Regions from separate parts of the Homo sapiens genome. Here regions 2, 3 and 4 are each linked to region 1. The links are contacts of gene promoters, found by promoter capture Hi-C in human tissues and cell types (Jung and others, 2019). All regions are on one chromosome and are shown on one strand. Each heading gives the region's core, a stretch centred on a gene start or on the middle of the fragment in contact. The rest is flanking DNA. Distances are from core to core; before and after follow the strand shown.

The links. Contacts are between HindIII fragments. The study calls those that stand out against the background at their distance.
Region 2: a contact is called between a fragment that was not itself captured here and the fragment with the promoter of GOLT1A in region 1, in 2 of the 25 tissues and cell types used here (adrenal gland and hippocampus).
Region 3: a fragment that was not itself captured here is called in contact with the fragment with the promoter of GOLT1A in region 1 in 1 of the 25 tissues and cell types used here (bladder).
Region 4: a fragment that was not itself captured here is called in contact with the fragment with the promoter of GOLT1A in region 1 in 2 of the 25 tissues and cell types used here (IMR-90 fibroblasts and thymus).

The regions. Positions count from the first base shown.
Region 1 is chr1:204,209,646-204,216,311 of GRCh38, reverse strand. GOLT1A (golgi transport 1A) reads left to right here and starts at 2,324. Exons shown (of 5, transcript NM_198447.2): 1 at 2,324-2,430. The coding sequence starts at 2,406. RefSeq lists an enhancer at 1,797-2,453. The HindIII fragment of the contact is 10,240 bases long and covers 961-6,666 here.
Region 2 is chr1:203,808,411-203,814,596 of GRCh38, reverse strand. All of the region lies in intron 1 of ZBED6 (zinc finger BED-type containing 6), which reads right to left. All of the region lies in intron 2 of ZC3H11A (zinc finger CCCH-type containing 11A), which reads right to left. Among named protein-coding and RNA genes, the nearest start is that of ZC3H11A, 16 kb to the right of the region's middle. The HindIII fragment of the contact is 4,767 bases long and covers 87-4,853 here.
Region 3 is chr1:203,887,010-203,893,735 of GRCh38, reverse strand. No RefSeq gene overlaps it. Among named protein-coding and RNA genes, the nearest start is that of SNRPE, 29 kb to the right of the region's middle. RefSeq lists an enhancer at 4,252-5,451. The HindIII fragment of the contact is 3,305 bases long and covers 2,302-5,606 here.
Region 4 is chr1:203,844,617-203,850,789 of GRCh38, reverse strand. It overlaps ZBED6 (zinc finger BED-type containing 6), which reads right to left. Exons shown (of 17, transcript NM_001395895.1): 12 at 3,103-3,606; 13 at 2,383-2,459; 14 at 764-1,079; 15 at 109-275. ZC3H11A (zinc finger CCCH-type containing 11A) reads right to left here. Exons shown (of 18, transcript NM_001376342.1): 13 at 3,103-3,606; 14 at 2,383-2,459; 15 at 764-1,079; 16 at 109-275. Among named protein-coding and RNA genes, the nearest start is that of SNRPE, 14 kb to the left of the region's middle. The HindIII fragment of the contact is 5,303 bases long and covers 1-4,979 here.

The DNA of each region.
Region 1 (6,666 bases), core at 1,075-3,574:
GAATGTACAACTGAACTAAACCCACTACCAGTAAAAGTTGGTCATACTTCAATTGACAGTAATACCAAAAGGTTTTGTAAGCTTTTAAAAATAAATTTCATGAACACTCAGAAAGTTAGGAGATGGTTATTATGGAGCAGAAGCTTAAAAGGAATAAAGACATTGTCTTAAAATTATTGAATAATCTACTCCATGCATTGTCTACACAAAGGATTATAAGATTTCAGCTACTATGTATTTGATTGAAAACAGTTCTGATCAGTAGGTGATACTGAATAAACGAAGAAATTGACTGAAAATATTTAACAGAGGATATGTGAGAGAAGCAAACATGGAATCAGAGACACTTGAGATGCAGAAGATCTCACTGAGTTTCCTTAATAAAAGTTTTTAGGGTTTATTTCATATTATTGCCATCCTTTATATGTTTAGTTTTTTTGGAGCCCAAGGATGCTATGTTGTCATAATTATGTGTGGAAATGTTGTGTCCTGTCTTTACAACACTGTCCCGGGTGTCCACATGCAATTGCTCTAAACCACTTTTATCTTCTTTTCTTTTCCCAATCCATCCTCTATCCCCCATTGCCCATTGGAAATATGTGATCTCTAAGGCCTTTTAAGATCCCAGAGACTGAATTTTACCTCAACGCTGATATGTTTCAAGACAGAGGTTGATGTGTCTGTGGTACTCTATGGCGACCCCATTCCATGGGAGCTATTTTGACAATACACACATACCTAAGACTGAGTTCCTTTGCATGCACATCATACTTCTATATTATCTCCACCTTGTGCTCTCTAATTTGCCTTGCTATGTTATCCCTATTTCAATTAAGATGCTTTCCCTCTCATCATATGCAAGTACGTCTGGTCTGTTATTCCTTATCTAACAGTTTTTATTCTATGTTCACTTCCTGCTACTCTTTCATTTTCTTGCATGTGTGTGATTTTTGTTTTTGCATAGAATGGCTCATCTTCTATTTCTCTTAAATTCAAACATATATTATGTGTGGGTGCAAGCAATCTGCCTATTTCATTTATGTCTTCTGGTAAGTCTTGCCTGAACATTTATATATTGAAAGACATCATGTTTTATTATAATTTATCTTTTTGTTTCTTTTTAAAAAATTATGTTAGCTTTCCTTGGTTTTGTTGTTGTTGTTTGGTTTGTTTTTTTTTGAGACAGGATCTCGCTCTGCTACCCAGGCTGGAGTGCATGGCTTGATCACAGCTCATCGCAGCCTCGACCTTCTGGGCTCAAGCAATCCTCCTACCTTAGCCTCCCCAGTAGCTGGGACTACAGGCAGGTACCACCACATCCGGCTAATTTTTTATTTTTATTATTGTAGAGACAAGGTCTCACTATGTTGCTCAGGCTGGTCTCAAACTCCTGGGCTCAAGCAATCCTCCTGCCTTGGCCTCCCAAAATGCTGGGATTACAGACATAATGCATTTTGTATGCCAGGCCTATTTGCATTTTTAAATGATGTATATAGGTAGTCTTTGAAATTCATTTCTTCATTTCTGGACACAGAAGACATTGCAAAGTGGATGTTGGCTCTCCTGGCATCAATGCCACGTCAGAACCACTGCTCTGCGATGGGAAAAAAGGATGTTAGGAACTAACTGCCTCTCTTTTTGCAGGCCCAAAGGACGAATCCATGTCTACACAGCTGGTGGGTAGACTAGAACCAGGCCTCCTAAATTGTGCAGTCCTGCCCCAACCCCAAATTCAGGGCTTTGTCTTCCATAGCTCAACATCACAGTCAGTCCAAAGCTTGGACGCCGCTTGGGGAAAGGAGGTCGAAGACCTTCACGTCTAACTTCCCCCATGGCGCTTTTGCCATTGATTTAACCCGATCTGGCTCTGCCATTAGGTCAACAACAGGCTTTGTGCTCAGTCGCTCATCGCCTCCCAGCGCCTAGCATGTGCAATAGCAGAGAGCAAAAAGCTTGACTTTCAAGATGAATTTAGTACATTCCCAAAGGGATGCGCAGATGCCAACTCTTCCCACACTATCAAACCAAGCAAGAAACTTGAGCACCCCCTAGATTCCAATGCTTCCACATACAATCTAAGTTTCGCGGAGCAGACGAGAGCCGCAGAACACCGCGAGGTGCGAGGAAAGGGTCAGGTGGGCGGTGCCTTCCCCGGGCAGGCGCGGCAGGTGGAGGGGCGGGGCATTGCCCTACCGGAAAACGGGAGGAGGGAGCTGGCGAGTAGAAGCACCTGCGTGGTGTGCGGGGGTGGAGCGGGGGCTGGAGGGAGAGTTAATGATTTGCCACAGGCTCATTTCGCAACTTAACCAAGGGTCAGCTTCCCGTGACCATGTACCAGCTGCGTCCTCTGGGCCACGCTCCACTTGCCCGCTTCCACCCGGAAAGCCCCCCAGGCTGAGTGCGGCATGATCTCCATCACCGAATGGCAGAGTAAGTGGGATGAGCGGGGCTGCAATGGGCTATCCAGGCCAGGCTCCCTGCCGGCTGGCTCTCTCTCCCAGCTGGGCTCTCTGTCACTACAAGCGTGACCTCTGGAGCCAGGGGCTGGGAGATGCTGTGCTGGCACCCTGGGGCAGCAGGCAGGGTGGGGTGTGGCTCCCTACCCTCCAGCGGGTGGGAGTTGCTCAGGGCCCACAGGTAGCTAGAGGCTGGTGCCCAGGGGGCCTGGCAGGTTCCCCATTCACACTGACCCCTTTCCCATCCCGGGTTCTTAGAACTGGGTTGCCACAAAGGTGGACTCAGGAGGCCTCTGCCCATTCAGACATCTTTCCCCACACCATCAAGGTCTCCTGTGGCCCTGGGGGCTTCTTATAAAAAACTAAACTCCACTCCCCTGACCAAACCACCATACCCTCACTCCTAAACATCCTTCCCCTTCTTTTGGGGGAAGAGGTAGGGAGGAGGTCTTGGAACAAGTCTGGGGCCATGGGAAGAACCGTGGCTCTGTGGGCTTCATTTGGGTGAGTTACTTAAAGCCTCTGAGCCTTGGTTTTTCATCTGAGAATTGGTGACAACATTCTTTTGTTCACTCAACAGATTTGTCTCTGCTGTGTGCCAAGCACTGTGTTGGATATAGAGTGTCCAACATTAAATGAAACTGACTCCCTGCTTACATTCTAGAGAGGGGAGACAGGTAATTAACAGAAAGAAGTATATAGTATATCAGAAGATGATAAGTCCTCCAGATGAAAATAAAACAAGAGGAGGCTATGGAGTTCGAGGTAGGAGGGGTCGCTATTTTATATAGAGTGGTCAGGGAAGCCTCACTGAGAAGGTGAGCCTTTATTCAGATCTTTTTTCAGAGATCTATAGGAAGTGAGGAAGCAAAGCCACGCAGCTCTCTGGAGGGGAAATGTTCAGGAAGCAGGGACAGGCAGTGCAAAGGCCCTGAGGCATTAGCATACTTGGTGTGTTTGAAGAACAACAAGGAGGTGGGTATACCTGGAGCAAAGTGAGGTGAGGGGAGAATCATAGGAGTTTAGGTCAGGGATGTCACTGAGGGGTCAGGACACTGGAGACTTATAGACCATGGTAATGACCTTGGTTTTGTGCTATGGTGTGATATGTTCTATTTCTATGTTTAAAAGATCATTCTGGGTGCTGGGTTGAGAATAGACTGTGGAGGTATGAAGGCAGCAGCAGGGAAGCCAGTTCTTTTTTTTTTTTTTTTTTTTTGAGACAGAGTCTCACTCTGTCGCTCAGGTTGGAGTACAGTGGCATGATCTCTGCTCACTGCAACCTCCACCTCCTGGGTTCAAGCGATTCTCCTGCCTCAGCCTCCTAAGTAGCTGGGGTTACGGGCACCCACCACCACACCTGGCTAATTTTTGTATTTTTAGTAGAGATGGGGTTTCTCCACGTTTACCAGGTTGGTCTCGAACTCCTGACTTCTCAAGTGATCCACCTGCCTGAGCCTCCCAAAGTGCTGGGATTACAGGCGTGAGCCACCGCGCCCAGCCAGGGAAGCCAGTCCTGAGTGTGTGAAGGTGGAGACCAAGGTGTTAGCAGGAGATTAGCGGGGCGTGGTCCATGCTGGATCTGCCTTGAGGAAAGCGTTGAGGATTTGCTGACGGTTTGGACATAGGGTGTGAGAGAAAGAGGAGTCAAGAATGCCTTGTATATTTTTTAGCCTGTGCAATGGGAAGGGTTGAGTGGGGGGAAGCAGGAATTGGGCTTTAGATGTGTTGAGTCTGTTTGTGCTGTTAGACATCCGGGTGAGATGTCAGGTAGGTGGTTGGGTATGTGAGTCTGGAGTTCCAGGTAGAGGCCTGGGCTGGAGACAGAAATGTGGGAATAATCTGCATATACATGGTTTTTAGGACTATGAGCATCCATGAGATCACCGAGGGCAGGCACAGTTTCTCACCTCCCCACTATTGACATTTTGGGGCAGGATAATTCTTTGTTGTGGGGGCCTGTCCTGTACATTATAGGATATCAGCAGCATCCCTGGCCTCTATCCACTACATGCCAGTAGCACCCCCACTCCAAGTTGTGACAATAAAAAATGTCTTCAAACATTGCCAGATGTCCCCTGGGAAACAAATTTCCATCCCGCACCCCGCTTCCCCACCCACAATCCCCTCAGCCCAGTTGAGAATCATGGACCTGGCGAATAAAAATATAGAGAGAGGTGGGTTGGGTCCTCAACCCAGTGGCACGCTGACACTTTGTTAAACCAATTAGCCTGCAAGTAATATACTCTTACCAAATATGATAAGCAAGTCCTGTGAGAGAGAGAAATGAGGGATTTAGGTCAGGGAAGAGAGTGGACCAGCTTTCCCTGAGCAACTGACATTTCAGCTGAGACCTGAATGATGAGGATGCATTGTCAAGTAACAAGTGAGAGGCAGGGTGTTGCAGACCAGGAAACTGCATGTACGAAGGCCCTGAGTCAAGAGGGCTCACATGGAAGCCATGGAGAACAGTGTGGTTGGAGCATGGCAGGCAATAGGGACAGTGGCAGGAGATGAGGTGGGCAGGCAGGCCTGGGCCCCACCAGGCAGGGCCTGTGAGCTGTGGTGTGGATGAGAAGGCTCTGCTGCAGTCTAATCTCAGTGGGCAGCCGTGAAGGAGTCTAGGCAGTATGCTAACATGATCAGGTTGTATGTTTTGCAAGACCTTTGAGCGCCGTGTGGAGAAGGACTGGGAGGGTGCAGGAATAAAGCAGGAGGCCAAATGGGGGCTGCTGCATACGTCCAGGAAAGAGATGATCGTGGCCGGGAATTAGGTGTTAAGAATGGAGAGAAATGGACAGCTTTCAACATGTATCTTGGAAGAAGAAAAGAAAACTTAGCTGTGGATTTCATGGGGGAGGGGTGGGCTTCTGCGTTAAGTGGTGGGGTGGGCGGTGGTGACATGTTTACTCATTTGAGGACAACCAAGGGAGGCACAAGTTGAAGGAGGGAAGATAAATAGACCAGTTTGGGATTGAAGATTAGCCCAGTTCAAGATGGCTGAGAGAAAACCAGGCAGATATGCCAAGTAAGCAGCTAGATATGAGTTTCAAAGCCCAAAGAGAGGCATGGACTAGAAAGAGAGACATCAGTGTCATCAGCATACAAGGGAGGTTTGAAGACGTGAGAGGCTGGGTGTGGTGGCTCATGCCTGTAATCTCAGCACTTTGGGAGGATCGCTTGAGGCCAGGAGTTCAAGACCAGCCTGAGCACATTGCAAAACCCCTGTCTCAACAACAAAAAAATTTAAACCAATTTTAAAAAATTAGCTGGGCATGGTGGCCAAGTGCCTGTAGTCCCAGCTACTCAGGAGACTGAGGTAGAAGGATCCCTTGAGCCCAGGAGTTCAAGGCTGCAGTGAGCTATGATTGTGCCATTGCACTCCAGCCTAGGCAACAGAGCGAGATCCCAGCTTTAAGACAAAATTAAAAACAAAAATAAACACATGGGAATACATGTGGAAATAGAATGAGAAGAGAAGTGAGCTTGGGCACAAGCCCTGTGCAATTCAAATCCCAAGAAGAAGAGAGAGAAGTAGGAGCTGGCAGAGGAGACAGAGAAAGGGCAGTTAGAGCAGTAGGAAGAAAATCAAGAACGTGTTGTGCACAAACCAAGAGAAAGGCTGTTTCAACACGGCAGTGGTCAGTTCTAACAGATGATGGTTCACACCTGCCCATTGGATCTGGTAACATGAAGGTCATTAATGGCCAAGGCAAGAGCATTGCCTGCAGAAGTGGACTGGACTGGGTTGGTTAAAGGCACTTTTTATTTTTTGTTTTGTTTTGTTTTTGGTTTTTGAGATGGAGTTTCACTCTTGTTGCCCAGGCTAGAGTGCAATGGCATGATCTTGGCTCACTGCAACCTCTGCCTCCCGGGTTCAAGCGATTCTCCTGCCTCAGCCTCCCAAGTAGCTGGGATTACAAGTGCCCGCCACCTCACCGGCTAATTTTTTGTATTTTTAGTAGAGACGGGGTTTCATCATGTTGGCCAGGCTGGTCTCGAACTCCTGACCTCAGGTGATGATCCACCCACCTCGGCGTCCCAAAGTGTTGGGATTATAGGTGTAAACCACCGTGCCTGCCCAAAAGGCACTGTTTGGAGCTCAAGACTAAGTTCAAATCCTGCTTCTGCCAGCTGCTGTGTATCCCCAGGCAAGTGACTTAACCTCTGTGTTTCAGTTTTGTTTGTGAAATGGTGCTAATAGTAGTAC
Region 2 (6,186 bases), core at 1,221-3,720, 400 kb after region 1:
GGTGAGGTTTCAGTCAGAAATTAGGATCGTGTTATTGGAAACTGGAGGAAAGGTTATTCTTTTTTTTTTCTTTGAGATGGAGTCTTGCTCTGTCACCCAGGCTGGAATGCAATGGTGCCATCTTGGCTCACTGCAACCTCTGCCTCCCAGGTTCAAGCAATTCTCCCGCCTCAGTCTCCCAAGTAGCTGGAATTACAGGCTTGCACCACCACATATGGCTAATTTTTGTATTTTTAGTAGAGACAGGGTTTCGCCATGTTGGCCAGGCTGGTCTTGAACTTCTGACCTCAGATGATCCTCCCACCTCAGCCTCCCAAAGTGCTGGGATTACAGGTGTGAGCCAGCGCCTGGCCGGAAAGGTTATTCCTGTTAAAAAGTGGCAGAGAACTTAGAATTGGGTTGTGTTGGGCAGAAGGCAGAACCTGGAAGCAATGAACTTGGGTTTTAGCTGAGGAGATTTCTAAGCAAAGTGTGGAAGGAACAGCCTGGGCTTTTCCTGCTGCTTACAGTGAAATGCAAGGAGAGAGACATATTGAGGCAAGAACTATGAAGCAAAAAGGAATAAAGAATCTGAACTTGAAAATTTAGAAAATTCTCACTCTATCCATATTGCAAAAAAAAAAAACAAGAATGTATGCTCTGTAGAGAAAAGGGTATGGGTGGGCAACAGTTTGTTGGAGATTAGGTGTGTGACTAGATTCAGGCAACCATCTTAGCAAAAAATGTTGCCAGCTTAAAATGAAAGAGACAGACATGTACAGAGGGAATGTGATGAGAAGACACACAAGGAGAAGATGACCATGTGGCTGGAGTGATGCATCTACAAACCAAGGAATGCCAAGGATTGCCAACAAACACCAGAAGCCAGAATGGGTAAGGATCATTCCTCTACAGGCTTCAGAGGGAGAATGGCCCTGCTGAAAACATTTTAGACATCTCACCTTCAGAATTGTGAGACAACAAACTTCTGTAGCTACCCAGTTTGTGATACTTTGTTATGGAAGTCCTAGGAACTAATACAGATAACAAGCATAGTCAAATGACCTTTGACAAAGGGGAAAAGGATAGTCTTTTCAACATATGTTACTGGAACAAATGGATATCCACATATAAAAAAATAATTTTAGACACAGACTTTATACTTTTCACAAAAAATAACATGGATAACAACTTAAATACAAAAGAAAACCAATAAATTGGTTTTCAATAAAAACCATTAAAATTTAGCCAGGCATGGTGGTGAATGCCTGTGATCCCAGCTACTGAGGAGGCTGAGGCAAGAGAATTGCTTGAACCTGGGAGGCGGAGGTTGCAGTGAGCTGAGATCACACCACTGCACTCCAGCCTAGGCAACAAGAGCAAAACTCCATCCAAAAAAAAACAAAAAACAAAAAACAAAAAAACATTAAATTGGAGTTCATTAAAATTAAAAAGGTCTGCTCTGTGAAAGCTCTGTTAAGAAGCTTAAGAAAGAATGAAAAAGCCACAGGCTGGGAGAAAATATTTGCAAAACATAACTGATAAGGTCTGATATACAAAATATATAACTCTTGAAACTCAAAAATAAGAAAACAACTCCCCAATTCAAAAAGGCAAAAGATCTGAACAGGTACCTCACCAAAGAAGGTATACAGATGGAAAATAAGCATTTGAAATCTTGCCCAACATCATGCATCATTAGGGATTGCAAATTCCTTTTCTAATGGCTAAAATCCATTTGGGCACAGTGGCTCACACTTGTAATCCCAGCACTTTGGGAGGCCGAGGCAGGTGGGTCATCTGAGGTCAGGAGTTCAAGACGAGCTTGGCAAACATGGTGAGACCCCATCTCTACTAAAAATACAAAAATTAGCTGGCCGTGGTAGCACACACCTGTAATCCCAGCTACTCAGGAGGCAAAAACAGGAGAATCGTTTGAACCTAGGAGGCAGAGGCTGCAGTGAGCCGAGATCATGCCACTATACTCCAGCCTGGGCAACAGAGTGAGACTCCGTCTCAAAAAAAAAAAAAAAAAAAAATTTAGAATGGCTAAAATCCAAAATACTGAAAGCACTAAATGCTGGTGAGGATGGGAAGCAACAAGACAGAAGTCTGAAAAAAACACAAAACATGGAATAGTATGCATCCAATAAAAAGGAACAAAATCATGTCCTTTGCAGGGACATGAATGGAGCCAGAGGCTATTATCCTTAGCAAACTAATGCAGAAACAGGAAACCAAATACAGCATGTTCTCACTTATAAGTGGGAGCTAAATGCTGAGAACACTTGGACACATAGAGGGGAACAACAAACACTGGAGCCTATCAGAAGGTAGAAGGTGGGAGGAGGGAGAGGATCAGGAAAAACAACTAATAGATACTAGGCTTAATACCTGGGTGATGAAATAATCTGTACAACAAACCCCCACGACACACATTTACCTGTGTAACAAACCTGCACATCCTGCACATGTACCCCTGAATTTAAAATGAAAGTTAAGGCCCAGTGTGGTGACTCATACATGTAATCCCAGCACTTTGGGAGGCCGAGGTGGGTGGATCACTTGAGGTCAGTAGTTCAAGACCAGCCTGGCCAACATGGTGAAACCTCGTCTCTATCAAAAAATATAAAAATTAGCCAAGCATGGTGGCACACATCTATAGTCCCAGCTACTCAGGAGGCTGAGGTGTGAGAATCACTTGAACACAGGAGGTGGAGGTTGCAGTGAACCAAGATCACACTACTGCACTCCAGCCTGGGTGACAGTGAGACCTGTCTAAAAAAAAAAAAAAAGAAAAAGACAAAGCTATCTGAATACTTTTCAGACATATATGCAACAAAGGAAAAAGTTTAATAATAAAAAAAGTCATTTGAGGTCAAGAGTTCAAGACCAGCCTGGCCAACATGGCAAAATCCCATCTCTACTGAAAATACAAAAAATTAGCCAGGCGTGGTAGCCCACAACTGTAGTCTCAGCTACTCGGGAGGCTAATGTACAAGAATCGCTTGAATCCAGGGGGCAGAGGTTGCAGTGAGCCACAATCTTGCCACTGCACTCCAGACTAGGCAACAGAGCAAGATTCTGCCTCCAGAAAAAAAAAGTTTTTAAGGGGAATAAAAGGCTTAGAGGTCAATCTCACTCACAAAATCAATATTCCAAAGAACATATTTGAAACTGTTACCGGTTTTAGAAAGACCAGCAACAAAGTAATTGAAACAATGAAATGGTAGCTATGAAATGCAAAGACACAGCAGAATTTACAATTTTTTGGCAACTAATTTTATTTATTTATTTATCTGGAGACGGAGTTTCGAGTTTTGCTCTTGTTGCCCAGGCTGAAGTGCAATGGCACGACCTCAGCTGACTGCAACCTCCACCTCCTGGGTTCAAGTGAGTCGCCTGCCTCAGCCTCCCAAGTAGCTGGAATTACAGGTGCCCACCACCACACTTGGCTTTTTTTTTTTTTTTTTTGTGACAGAGTTTCACTCTTCTACCCAGGCTGCTGGAGTGCAGTGGCGCAATCTCGGCTCATTGCAACCTCCACCTTCTGGTTTCAAGCGATTCTCTTGCCTCAGCCTCCCAAGTAACTGGGATTACAGGCGCCTACCACCATACCCTGCTAATTTTTTTTTTTTTTTGTATTTTTAGTAGAGATGGAGTTTCACCATAGTGGCCAGGCTGGTGTGAAACTCCTGACCTCAGGTCATCTGCCCGCCTCAACCTCTCAAAGTGCTGGGATTACAGGCGTGAGCGTCTGGCCCACAACTAATTTTCAAATCATTTTCTGCAAAGAGCCCTCAAAGTTGGGCAGAGTGTGGAGAAATGGAATCCTGAGTAGATAACACTCCCTTACTAATGTTTCAACAGAAAAAACTCCTTCGTCAGATCTAAGAGCTGGCCGGGCGCGGTGGCTCACGCCTGTATTCCCAGCATTTTGGGAGTCCGAGGCGGGTGGATCACGAGGTCAGGAGATCGAGACCATCCTGGCTGACACTGTGAAACCCCATCTCTACTAAAAATACAAAAAATTAGCTGGGCGTGGTGGTGGGCGCCTGTGGTCCCAGCTACTCTGGAGGCTGAGGCAGGAGAATGGTGTGAACCCCAGAGGTGCAGGTTGCAGTGAGCTGAGATCGCGCCACTGCACTCTAGCCTGGGCGACAGAGTGAGACTCTGTCTCAAAAAAAAAAAAAACCTAACAGCTACAATGTAAAACAAGAAAAAGGAAATAAGAGATAAAGAAAAAAAGAAAAGTTTCTTTATATATCATCTTTATACACTAAGCTTCTGTAACTTTCACTAGGATAAAAACAAATATAATTGCCATTCAAGAAAACGGCAAGGCCAGGTGCAGTGGCTCATGCCTATAATCCTAACACTTTGAGAGACCAAGGCAAGAGGATCACTTGAGACCAGGAGTTCAAGAACAGCCTGGGCAACAGACAGACCTCATCTCTTAAAAAAAAAACAAAAAACAAAAACAAAAAAAACACCACTCCAGCTTTTAAATGATGCTCCAATGACTTTATAATCAATACTATCCCATGCAAAAACACAAAACAAAGATGCACATCCATAAATTTCTTAAGTTTAAAAGGAAAAAAAAAGTATCTAGGTTGCCAAGAAAAACCCAGTTACTTTTTTTTGTTTAGTTTTGTTATTTTTGAGAGAGTCTCGCTCTGTTGCCCAAACCTGGAGTGCAGTTGCGTGATCTTGACTTACTGCAACCTCCACCTCCTGGGTTCAAGCAATTCTCCTGCCTCACCCTCCCGAGTAGCTGGAATTACAGGCGCCTGCCACCATGCCTGGCTAATTTTTGTATTTTTAGTAGAGACGGGGTTTCACCATGTTGGCCAGATTGGTCTCGAACTCCTGACCTCAAGTGATCTGCCCATCTCAGCCTCACAAAGTGCTAGGATTACAGCCGTGAGCCACCGCACCCGGTTAACCTGGTTACTTTTCAACAGAAAATAACCGTTTGAAAATATGAAGCCAAGAAAAATAATGGGACCTTTCTCAACCCACTCTCTAGAAGTTAATGTAGGAAAAAGGACATATTATTTTAAAATCTTCATGCTCTCAGCAAGTTTTAAAGGATATAGCATTGCTACAAATGAACATACCACTATGAAAAAAGAGTGGGGCTGGGTGCGGTGGCTCAGGCCTGTAATCCCAGCAACCTGGGATTTCGGAGATGGGCGGATCACGAGGTCAGGAGTTTGAGACCAGCCTGGCCAATATGGTGAAACACCGCCTCTACTAAAAATATAAAAAATTAGCCGGGCACGGTAGTGTGCGCCTGTTGTCCCAGTTACTCGGGAGGCTGAGGCAGAAGAATCGCTTGAACCCTGGAGGCGGAGGTTGCAGTGAGCCAAGATCATGCCACTGCACTCCAGCCTGGGAGACAAAGCAAGACTCCATCTCAAAAAAAAAAAAAAAAAAAAACAGTGAGAAGAAAACAAAGCTTCAAAAATAATAAGAAAACTCAGGCTGGGTGTGGTGGCTCATGCCTGTAATCCTAGCACTTTGGGAGGCCGAGACAGGTGGATCACCTGAGGTCAGGAGTTCGAGACCAGCTTGACCAACATGGTGAAATCCTGTCTCTACTAAAAATACAAAATTAGCTGGGCGTGGTGGCGAATGCCTGTAATCCCAGCTACTTGGGAGGCTGAGGCAGGAGAATCACCTGAACCCGGGAGGTGGAGGTTGCAGTGAGCCAAGATTGTGCCATTGCACTCCATCCTGGGCAACAACAGAAAAACGCCTTCTCAAGAAAATAAATATATAAAATAATGATAATAATGAAGAAAAAAAAGAAGAAGATGGCGATGACGACGACGAAGATGAAGACTCTAATTTCCAGCCCCTACCTTCAAAAATAGATTTCAGTAGAGGAAAGAACAGAATAAACACTGATGAAAAACATAATAACTGAATTACAAGAGATTACTGACACGACATCTCCACGAATCCAAACCAAAAATGCCAACATATGTCACTAAGAGGGAAATTGTATATGAAATGAAAATAATTCCAGAAAACTCAATTTCTATAAATAGAAATCCTAAAAAGGAATGGAATTTGTAGAGATTATGAAAGAAACAATATAAGAACATTTCCTTAAATTTGATGGACTTGAGTCTTTACATTAAAGGGGATCATCAAATGCCAGGCAGAACTTTTCTTTAAAGACATCTCTGCTATACA
Region 3 (6,726 bases), core at 2,705-5,204, 320 kb after region 1:
CAAAGCAAGCTTAGTCTAGGACTAATTTTCTTCCACTATTAATGCAATGTTCTTCTATTTATTTTTCAGACAGGGTCTCACTCTGTTGCCCAGGCTGGAGTACAGTGGCACAATCACAGATCATTGCAGCCTTGACTTCCCTGAGTTCAGGTGATCCTTCCACCTCAGCCTCCTGAGTAGCTGTGACTACAGGTGCATGCCACCACACCTGGCTAATTTTTGTATTTTTTTGTAGAGAAAGGATTTCACCATGTTGCCCAGGCTGGTCTCCAACTCCCAGGCTCAAGTGATCTGCATGCCTTGGCCTCCCAAAGTGCTAGGATTACAGGTGTGAACCACCGTACCCGGCCTGCAATGTCCCTTTAAATATTCTATCTGACCCCTTTTGAGGTATGAGGTCTTTCCTCTGTAGCTGGCAGGAATAAAATCTTTTCCCAGTCCTTTGCAAAATGCATGAAAAGAAGTGTTTATTCTGCTTCTTTTTGATGTTTACTTCCCTTGCCTGGGTTGTTACCTCACATGTATGTGCTGGTCAACCCTCTGAAGACTTGAGGCGGAAACTCTGCACATCTCCAGTTCTCTCCTCTCCAGAACTCTTCCCTGAAAACTTTATTTCCTTGGGTTGCTGTAGATTCCCAATCCCATCTCAACTCAGGGAGACTCCCCTGTGTTCCACCCAGGTTCCTACCCACTGTACTGAGGCTTGAGAAAATCTCCTTAGATGTTAAGTTTGATGAATTGTAAGGCTCACTTCATATGGTTACCTGAGAGAACAACCACCGTCCTGGAATGCCTGGTGTCCTACTGTCTGAAATTTAATTGTTTCATATTTCTTATTCAATTTTTTTTTTTTTTGAGACGGAGCTTCACTCTTGTCACCTAGACTGGAGTGCAATGGTGCGATCTCGGCTCACCACAACCTCCGCCTCCCGGGTTCAAGTGATTCTCTTGCCTCAGCCTCCTGAGTAGCTGGGATTACAGGCATGCGCCACCTTGCCCAGCTAATTTTGTATTTTTAGTAGAGACGGGGTTTCTCCATGTTGGTCAGGCCGGTCTTGAACTCCTGACTTCAGGTGATCCACCCGCCTTAGCCTCCCAAAGTGCTGGGATTACAGGCACGAGCCACTGCACCCAGCCCCAGATTTTTACTTGTTTCTGTTAAATCTGATCCCTCTTACTCCATTTTGACTAGAAGCCTACTGTTTTATTTGTTGCAGCTATGATTACAAGCCTGTTGTGGAGGAAAGACATGAACTCCTCTATGAATTTAATGAAAGCTACTGACCACATTCCCCTCATAAATGAACATTCCTTGTTATTTTAAATGTAATTTCAGGTAGGTTCATTGGCTCCTGTATCTGGTATGAAGGGCTCATGGATCCGACACTTAGAATTCTTGTTTTTTCTTTTTCTTTTGAATTTTCTTGAGTTGGCTTTCTGTTAATTCTACCCTTCTGTTCCTTTCATTTTAGTATTTAATCACTTTGCTCATCAATTTTGTCCTTTTCTTGTTCCTCAACCATCATGTTTACCTTTTTGTCTTTTTAAGTTTTTTTTTTTTTTTTTGAGACAGGATCTCACTCTGTCCCCCACGCAGGAGTGCAGTGGTACAATCTTGGCTCACAGCAGCCTTGACCTTCCAGGCTGAAGTGATCCTCCCACCTCAGCTTCCCGAGTAGCTGGGAATACAGGCATGCACCACCACATCTGGCTAATTTTTGTATTTTTTGTAGAGACAGGCTTTTGCCATATTGCCCAGGCTGGTCTTGAACTCCTGGGCTCCATCCACCCACCTCAGCCTTCCAAAGTGCTGGGATTATAGGCATGTGGCACCATGTCTAGCCTCATGTTTACTTTTTTTTTCTTTTTTTCCAGACGGAGTTTCGCTCTTGTTGCCCAGGCTGGAGTGCAATGGCGTGATGTCGGCTCACCACAACCTCCACCTCCTGGGTTCAAGCGACTCTCCTGCCTCAGCCTCCCAAGTAGCTGGGATTACAGGCACGTGCCACCAAGCTGGGCTAATTTTGTATTTTTAGTAGAGATGGGGTTTCACTACTTCTTGTATTACACACTGAAGACAAAAAGCAGGGTCATGCAGTAATAACTGTGTAGTCAGCCCATACTTTAAATGGGACACTAGTTACTTTTAAGCAGTAAACCCTGACAATGCCCACCCTTTACCTATAACCAGTCGACCTGCATTGGCATTCCTTGTTCTCCTTTCTACAACCTAAACATTGAAAACTCTAGTCTCAGTAACTCAGATCTTCCTTTAGACAGTGAGTTGTCTGTGTTTGCAATGTTTTATTTATTTATTGTTTTTTTGAGACAGGGTTTCACTTTGTCACCCAGGGTGAAGTGCAGTGATGCAATCACAACTCACTGCGTCCTCAACCTCCCAGGTTCAAGCAATCCTCCTGCCTCAGTCTCCCTAGTAGCTGGGACTACAGGCGGTGCCACCATGCCTGGCTAATTTTTGTATTTTTTGTAGAGACAAAGTTTTGCCATGTTGCCCAGGCTGGTCTCAAACTCCTGAGCTTTAGTGATCTTCCCACTTTGGCTTCCCAAAGTGCCAGGATTACAGGCACGAGAGCTACTGTGCCCAGTCACAACATTTTGAAGCTGTGAAAACAGTGGTTTTCTTCACTCATGTCACCTACAATGTAGGCCAGTGTCGTCCAACAGAAATACAAGCCACATATGTAATTCTAAATTCCCTAATATCCACATTGGCCAGGCTCGGTGGCTTACTCCTATAATCCCAGCACTTTGGAAGGCCGAGGTGAGCAGCAGATCACTTGAAATCAGCAGTTTGAGACAAGACTAGACAACAAAGTGAGACTCCACTTCTACAAAAAAATACAAAAATTAGCCAGGTATGGTGGCATGCACCTGTAGTCCCAGCTACTCAGGAGGCTGAGGTGGGAGGATGGCTTGAGCCTGGGAGGCAGAAGTTCCAGTGAGCTGAAATCAAGCCACTGCACTCCAGCCTGGTTGACAGAGCCAGACCCTGTCTCAAAAAAGAAGCAATATCAAAAAAAAGTAATTGGTGGAATTAATTTTGTTTTACGTAATCCATTATATCTAAAATATAACTATTTCAATGTTACAAACATAAAAATTATTATTGGCTGGGTGCGGTGGCTCATGCCTGTAATCCCAGCACTTTGGGAGGCTGAGGCAGGTAGATCACTTGAGGTCGGGAGTTCGAGACCAGCCTGACCAACGTGGAGAAACCCCGTCTCTACTAAAAATACAAAATTAGCTGGGTGTGGTGGCGCATGCCTGTAATCCCAGCTACTGGGGAGGCTGAGGCAGGACAATCGCTTGAACCCGAGAGGCGGAGGTTGCAGTAAGCCGAGATCATGCCACTGCACTCCAGCCTGGGTGATAGAGCCAGACTCCATCTCAGGAAAAAAAAAAAAAAAAAAAAAAAATATATATATATATATATATATATAATATAACATATAAATATATAATAGAAATACATATAATATATAAATATATATTATGTAATATAATACTAATATAATATAATATAATATAACATATATAAATAGATATATTTGTTGACATGGAGTTTTGTTCTTGTTGCCCAGGCTGGAGTGCAATGGTGTGATCTCAGCTCATTCTGAGCAGCAATTCTGCTGCCTCAGCCTCCCGAGTAGCTGGGATTACAGGCATAAACCACAACGCCTGGCTAATTTCGTATTTTTAGTAGAGACGGGGTTTTACCACGTTGGCCAGGCTGATGTGGAACTCCTGACTTCAGGTGATCCACCCCCCTCGGCCTCCCAAAGTGCTGGGTTACAGCCGTGAGTCACCGTGCCTGGCCAAATGTCTAGTTTAAAAAGTAGACTGTCGTACACAAGTTGTTCCAAACATACTTAAAGGTTTTCTAAACCAAAAAGTACGTTCCTTAGCCTTAGCACATTTTAAGTGCTCAATAGCCACTTATGGTTAGTGACAACTATATTAAACAGCATAGGCATAGGTCCTTTATGAAGAGTTACAGAATACCTCATTTCCGTGGTGATTTTGCTTTATTCCTACACAACACACTAGCACACACACATACATATATATTAAAACATTGCCTAAATCTTTGTAAGCAGATTTCACAACAGGAAGAAGTATGTCAAAATTTCAACTCAGGAATGGACTCAACATACTGATTTTAAAAAACAGTTAAGAGGTATTTAAACCTCAAATACTAATCTCTGAAAAAAGCATAGTTGAAATTCATAGCCAAATTTTTGACATTTCCCTCTCAATAACCTGTCTCCAACAAGTCTATAATCAATTCAATCTATTTATTTTTCTCTAGGCAAAGTCATAAGACCTTTTCCCCCAGGGTATATACATTCCCAATGTCCTTCTTTTTCTAAATCTTATTTATAATACGTAATAACTATAAAAATGCTGTTATAAAATATAGATACCTGCTCATAGAAATACACTTCATGAGGTATAAAAGATGCACAAAGATGTTTACTGTGGCATAATTTGTAATAATGAAAAAGCTGAGCTTCACAAAGAAATGTATTATAAATTATGATTTGTCAACTCAATGGAATACCATGAACAAAGCTTAGAGGGCAACAGGAAATGACTATTGTAGAAAGCATGATTATGGGTGATACATTGTAAAAAACCCTGATTCCTGTCTTAACAATGGAATGGGGAAAAAAAGAAACACCCTAGAGTTAAAACAAGGTAGAAAGATTGGAGTAGAAAGTACTTTTTCTTTTCTTTAGGTGTCTCAAGGAAATTAACAATAAGAGAAGAAAATGAAATGCCCTCACTGACCTTCCCTCCAGCCTTTCCTGCTGCTAATTCCCTGAAACTGAACTCCAGCCAAGACTTCAGAAGGATCCTATACATAAATGGAATCAGGCTTCAGGTTTCCTCAAGAGTGGGTGGGAAAGTTATGTGTGGAAAGGTCTCAACTAGAAGCCAAGAAAAGATCCACTTAGCAAAAAACCATACACCTTTTCAAAAAGAATGACCCAAAAAATTATTTCTAGTCCAAAATTTTGATAAAATTTTTAAAATTCATAAGAGAAAATATGGGACTTCCCAACCCAATATTCAGGCACATGATGTGAATCTCAATAACTGCCTAAAGCAAAGATAGTAACAATGTATTATGGGACTGAGAACTAAAAGTATGACGAAAAGAGTACAAAGAGGGCTGGGCACAGTGGCTCATGCCTGTAATCTCAATACTTTGGGAGGCTGAGGCAGGAGGATCACTTGAGCCCAGGAGATTGAGACCAACCTGGAAAACACAGACCCTATCTCTACACACGCAAAAAAAAAAAAAAACCCAAAAAACAAAACAATTAGCTAGGCATGGTGGTGCATCCCTGTAGTCCTAGCTATAGGGGAGGCCAAGGCAGGAGGATCACTTGAGTCAGGAGTTCAAGGCTGCACTGAGCTATGATTGTGCCATTGCACTCCAGCCTAGGAGACAGAGCAAGATCCTGTCTCTTAAACAAACAACAACAACAACAACAAAAACGCACAATGAAGGGAGGAATTGGAGGTATAAGAGTCTCATAGCATACATGGAGTGTTAAAATACTACTGAAAGCAGACTGGGCACGGTGGCTCATGCCTGTAATCCCAACACTTTGGGAGGCCAAGGTGGGTGTATCATCTGGGGTCAGCAGTTCAAGACCAGCCTAGCCAACATGGTGAAACCCCATCTCTACCAAAAATACAAAAATTAGCTGGGCATGGTGGTGGACACCTGTAATCCCAGCTACTCCAGAGGCTGAGGCAGGAGAATCGTTTGAACCCAGGAGGCAGAAGTTGCAGTGAGTTGGATCGTGCCACTGCACTCCAGCCTGGGCGACAAAAGCAAAACTCCATCTCAAAAACAAAAACAAAAACAAAACAAAACAAAAAAAGCTACTGAAAGTAAACTGTAGTAAGAAAGATGTATACTGTAATCCCTAGGTAATCAAGTAAAAGTCTTTTAAAAAATGGAGTATAGCTAATAAGTTTAACAGTAGATATAAAATGAAATCATAAAAATCATCCAAAGGAAAACAAAAATTTTGAGGAAAAAAAGAGATGGGGATGGGACAAACAAAAAACAAGTAAGGTGATGTAAAGAACCATTAAGTATCCTTAGTTTTACCCTACTTGCAGGCTAAGCAAGCCCCCCTCCCCGCATGGTTTCATGGGTGCTAGTAGAAAACATGTGAAATGTGAGTCAGAGGACAGTTTACTACTCTTATCAAGGACAATATCCAATATATCAGCATTTTCTTACAAGTTCCCCAAATCCTAATTCTCAAAGGCAATGCAAGGATGGCCAAATGATACTCACGTGCAATGGGTTGTGTTATGAGCAGAAAAACCTTGAATTTGAGGAACCAAATTTTTTATGCGATGTCTGCTCCATGCTCTGGTGGTACACGCCTGTAATCCCACCTACTTGGGAGGCTGAGGCAGGAGAATCACTTGAACCTGGGAAGGGGAGGTTGCAGTGAGCTGAGATCACTCCACTGCCCTTCAGCCTAGGCAACACAGCGAAATTCCATCTCAAAAAAATAATAAAAATTTTTTTAAAAAATAAGGCATGTTTTCAATCAGTAACCAAAGCTTCTGCCTTAAGAAACTAGAAAAAGATCAGATTAAACCCAAATAAAGAGATACATAGAAATAATAAAGAACAGAATAGATGAAGAATGAAAGTAAAGATACCTCTAC
Region 4 (6,173 bases), core at 1,079-3,578, 370 kb after region 1:
GAAATGCCAGGAAGTGATATACTCAAGATAGAATGCTAGTGGAGAGTTAGTCTTTCCTGCTTTCCTACCACACAGAATAAAGCACCACAAAGTGAATATACTTCTTACCACAGCTGCCTTTTTGGCTGGGGGTTCCTGTAGGACACTGCTGGAGCTGAGTGGCTTCACAGCGGCAATGACAGCAGCGTGCATCTCCACTGCCTTACGTTTTGGGGCCAATTTGGGGGATGACACAACTTTAACCACAGATGGCTTCACGTTCACTTTGGGTTTAGCTACAAAGGGCAGAAAATATCTGATAAGCAGTGAGAATAGACTCTTTTAAATGGGGAATAATTCAGAATAAAATATCAAAACTCCTTCAGTACTAGAAATACCACAAATAATTCATTTAAAAAGAGACTGAAAACGATTCAAAGGCAATTTGTGGTCACATGGTGGTCACTACAGGTGGTCACCATGTAGATACAATACCACTTAAATTTGTTACCATTCCTCTATTCCTTGTTTTTATTCAATACCAGAGGAAAGATGCACCATAGAAAGTTTTACACAAAGCTTTTTAAATAGCAATTTTAAATTCTGAGAAAAGAATTCATCTCGTTTTGCCTCTGTATAAAAATATCAGAAATATTACTATCTACCTGTGGATAGAAGGCAAATGAAATTCAACCCAATTGTTGCCAGGAAGTTACTGGCAACAATTGGGTTGAATTTGGTAATTTTGATAACCTAAAGCAATACACAGTATAGAAATACTTGCCTTTACCCCTTTTTTCCAAGGTCTGTGCTGCACATTTCACATTCAATAATGAGTCTCCAATCCCTGAGGTTTCTACCTCCACCTTCTGGGATGACTTTGTGGGAAGCCGCTTGGTCAGGTGCCGTGTGATTCCTGGCACAGCAGTGAGCACTGGTTTCTCTGCCACTTGGGTATTGCAAGAGGCTACATCTCCCCGAAGAGGTGTCAAGACTGATTTTTCCCTCTCCTGCTGTTTCTGCATGTGCTTCTCTCTCATGGTCTCACATCTCTTGACTTGAATTTTAGTGATGTCAACTCCTGTGGTCTCACCTGAAGCCTGTGGATAAATTTGAATGACAGAATTAAAATCTGGTACCTCTAATAACCTGTATGATGTAAGTACCAGGCTAACATCTAAGTTAAGCAGAATCTCACATGATCCAGAATCTGAGAGAAAAGCTCTTTATTTGATGTTAAATAGACAATACCCTGTTAAAGATGAAAGATTAGAATTACAGATGTATGGAATAATAAAAAACCCAGATTCCACAGGCTAGACAACCATGACTCTAAGTCAAATACTAATGATTCCTAAATAATCAAATACCTGCACAAAGATTTATGTACAAATATATTACTTTAAATTGTGTAAAACAAAATCTGAATGTCCAGAAAAAGACTGTATTTGTATAATGGAGAATCATGTGGTCAGTAAAAACAAACTTCTTGAAGAATTATTAACATGGTAAAGTTAAAGCAGGCTGTAAAATGATACACTGTAGAGTTCTCCATTATGTTCTAAACATGGGTTTAACATTAAACAAATTCACATGCATGCATATATAAACAAAAAGGTCGAAGAAGGCCAAGTGTGGTGGCTCACACATGTAATCCCAACACGTTGGGAGGCCAAGGCAGGCAGATCACTTGAAGCCAGAAGTTCGAGACCACTCTGGACAACATGGAGAAACTCTGTCTCTACTAAAAATACAAAAATTAGTCAGGCTTGGTGGTGCATGCCTTTGATCCCAGCTACATGGGAGGCTGAGGCACAAGAATCGCTTGAACCCAGGAGGCAAAGGTTGCAGTGAACCGAGATCATGCCACTGCACTCCAGCCTGGGCAACAGAGCAAGACTGAAAAAGCTCGAAGAAATCCATGGAAAAGATAATGATGGTTACATCTGAGCTGTATATTTTTAGGGTTTGTTCAGTTTTAAAAAAAATAAAATTTCCAACTTTTGTATGATGCATAGCATTAGAAAAAACTCAGTTAAAAAAAAGTAATGGCCAATTAAACAAAAAACTTTATTTTTTGTATTTTTAGTAGAGACGGGGTTTCACCGTGTTAGCCAGGACGGTCTCAATCTCCTGACCTCGTGATCCGCCCGCCTCAGCCTCCCAAAGTGCTGGGATTACAGGCGTGAGCCACCGCGCCCGGCAAACAAAAAACTTTAAAAGGGCAGCGAATACTGATATACATAGAACTACAGGAAATTCTCATAAGAAATTATAAGTAAAAAGAAAGACTGTTTACCTAATATATGAATGAAGTACTTAGAAATTTATTGTAAGGTAAAACTACCAATTATCTAGCCTTTGTTTGCCATGAACAAAACCATACAATAATCTTAAATTTACCTCTTTAGCTTCTGTTCTAATACTGCTCTGAGAATCAACTTCATTTCCTTCCTGAAGGTTCTTCTCTTCTTTCATCCCTGTATTCACATTAAAGACATCATTAGTTATTTTATTTAAGCTGCAACTTCATGATAGATATGTTAAACAAAACTTTATTTAATGAAAGTAGTAAGACAGGACAAATAAAATTACAGATAAAGCCCATCTGTGCTCCTAAAGTCTCAAAATACACATTAAAATAGCAAAGGTTGGCCGGGCATGGTGGCTCACACCTGTAACCCCAGCACTTTGGGAGACTGAAGCAAGCAGATCACACTTGAGGTGAGGAGTTTGAGACCAGCCTGGCCAACATGCTGAAACCCCATCTCTATTAAAAATACAAAAATTAGCGGGGTGTGGTGGCACATGTCTGTAGCCCCAGCTACTTGGGAGGCTGAGGCAGGAGAATCACTTGAACCTAGGAGGTGGAGGCTACAGTGAGCCAAGGTCATGCCACTGCACTGCAGCCTGGGTGACAGAGTGAGACTCTGTCTCAAAAATAAAATAAAACAAAATAGCATAGGTCTACATAGCACTACTGAAAAACTTCATTTAATTCAGTGTTTTCAACGTTATCTGAGTAAAGAAAGGTTGTCAAACAACTCCTAGGAAGATCCCACGGAACACTCCTCTGGAATATTATGTGGGGACGTGGTACTAGAGACCAAGTTCTCTTGTTACCTGTTCTTTTGGTGATTCGCAGCAGCCGCCTTGCCCCTGGAGTGGCCTCGTGTTGAGACGGGGAGCTGGTGCTGCTCTCAGAGCTCTGCTGCACCCTCAGTGCCTTCTCCAGTTTAATTTCTTCCAGCGTCTTGATGTGCACCTCCTGCATAGACTTTGTTTTACCTGCAGGCTCCTCTGATTGTCCTCTGCTGGCAACAATGGGTGGCAAAACTACTGTTTTTTTAATTTCACTATCAATCTTTAGCTTGATGCAAGTTGTATCCTTTTTGCTTTTTTGTCTCTCTGCTTCCTGCTGCCGATGTTTTTTTTCAGCCAGGACCTCAGAGAAGGTTTTGATACGGATAGTGGAGGAGCTTCTTGCTCCTGAAGTAGAATCATCAGTTTTTGAAGGTCCTTCTGTCTTGAGTTTAGTTTGCAATTCTCCACGTTTCTGACTGGCTCTTTCAAGAAGAATTTCTTCTAATGTCTTCACATGGATCTCACCAACTTTATTAACTTTATCTGTTTTCACAGGAGAAAAACATGTCATTATACTTGAAGTTCATCTCTTACTGACTTATGATCTCTCTATTCTTGGATCAAGACAGTCCAACAGAGAGCTATCATTTAAGCAGGCAATTAAAAGGATCAAAAGGGTAACATTTATTTCTTTTCCTTTTTTTCTTTTTCTTTTTTTTTTTAAGACAGAGTCTCACTCTGTTACCCAGGCTGGAGTGCAGTGGTATAATCTCAGCTCACTGCAACCTCTGCCTCCCAGGGTTCAAGTGATTCTCCTGCCTCAGCCTCCCAAGTAGCTGGGACTACAGGTACCCACCACCAAGCCCGGCTAATTGTTTCTATTTCAATTTTAGATTACTGCAAGTTCCAGGCAGTGGTCCTCAAGGAAAACTCTTTGGAGGCAAAAATTGATTTGTATTTCTATTCAGAAGCTTATTCTTCAGAAACTGAAAGCCATTTACTAGTTGGATAAATTTGTCATTATAAATCTTAACAAAAATAGCAATAAATTCTTCATTAACTTATGGCTATAAACATGTAATGAACACTGGGCTAGAAATACAATGGTAAGCAAAATAAAATCTCTGTCCACATGTAATTTACAGTCTAACAGATCAATAATTAAACTAGCTATAGCAGAGTATGGTAATGATAACTGCTTTGATAAGGTAGGTATAATGCTATAAAAGGACACAGCAGGAACACCTACACTTGTCTACAAGGAAATGATATTAAATTTAAAGGATAAAAAGAAGGTAAAACAGGTGACAAGATAGAAGAAAAATGCAGAAGGCCCAGAAATTGGCATGCCACTGAAGAGCTATTTTCAATGATACATTAATCGTTCTATATCTGTCTAAACTGAAGACCAAATGTCACACTTCACAGATAGAACCATTCTCATTACTGAAGGGCTAAGAAAATAAATAATGAAAAGAGATAGTGCTATGAAATAAATGATAATTTGGAGATCATACACATATATATGTAATCACTGAATAACAGCTTTTAATGAACCCCCCCCCCAAAAAAATTATATCTTTTCAAAATCTTTTTTTTTTTTTTTTTTTTGGTAAAGACGAGGTCTTGTTATGTGGCCCAGGCTGGTCTCCAAACTCCTGGCTTCAAGTGATCCTTCTGCCTCAGCCAATCAAAGTGCTGGGATTACAGGTGTGAGCCACCATACCCAGTCTGAAATCTTAAAATATACTGTGTTCTGTCTCACTTTCCAAACTCCTGAGTATACTATTCCCTCTACTTGGAGTATTCCGTGCTGTTCTCATTTCTCTTGCTACCTGTGTTTTTTGTTTGCTTGTTTTTTGAGACAGAGTTTTGCTCTGTTGCCCAGGCTGGAGTGTGCAGTGGTGTCATCTTGACTCACCGCAACCTACATCTCCTGGGTTCAAGTGATTCTCTGCCTCAGCCTCCCAAGTAGCTGGGCCTACAGGTGCCCACGACCACGCCTGGCTAATTTTTGTATTTTTTGTAGAGACAGGGTTTTGCCATGTTGGCCAGGCTGGTCTCAAAACTCCTGGTCTCAAGAGATTTACCTGCCTGGCCTCCCAAAGTGCTGGGATTACAGGCGTGAGCCACCACGCCAGGCCTGGTTAGTTTCAACTGAATTCAGCTTAAAACCTGATACCCTCCAATTTAGTTTTTCTGATCAAAGCACTGAACACTCAGTACACTGTAATTGCATCTTCAACCACACTAAAGACTTCATGAGAACAACGACTGTATTTAGGTACCTGTAATATTGCAAAGGAAGCACTCACTTACTGAATTAGTTCTTCAAGTTCTTTAATAAAAAATCACAAATTCTTTCAATCCAAGGTGGCAAACATTTCAAAATTACCACTCCAAGAAAGTACAACATGAATGGTGACATAGAGGCCCTGTTTCCCTCCCCTACCAAAATTTCATTGAAATGATAAAACATTAAAAATAAAATAAATCCACACCAGCAATGAGAAATAAGGATGTCACTGGCAGAGCATACATCTTGAAGAATTTCTAAAACAGAAAGCAGATGTCTGAATTTACAGAAAAATGGAAAAATAATAGTTAAAACCATAGGCGTGAGTTCTGTTCCTCCCAATACAGTCAAAGGAAACTGTCAAACTTGGGTTAACTAATATTAAAAGCAACGGTGGGATCTGACATAACCATTAGGGTAGAAATTTAAGGACTGCCTATAGAACAGTTGGGCCAGTCATGACCTCCTCCTGAGAACTGCTCCCTAAAAAGAGGCAAGTTTGCCCACGAAGAGCACATTATGAAGATGTTGGGGCTGGAGAGAAGTAGAGCATGAAAATCCCAAGCTTTCACAATACCAAGCAGAAAAAGGGGAGGGAGGAGGGATAAAAGTAAACAGCAAATCTGAAAAAGGAAAGAAGTTGTTTCCACTCAGAAAATAAAGTCTTACTGTGGCAATTGTATGAGCCCCCAGACCTCCCATCTTCAGTCCATACAAGCTGCCTGTTAGTACACCCTCTCCACTTAGCCAGACATAAATGGAGTCTCCCAGTCAGGAGAGAGGACAACTTGGGGAAAGGGTCTTTAAAATGAAA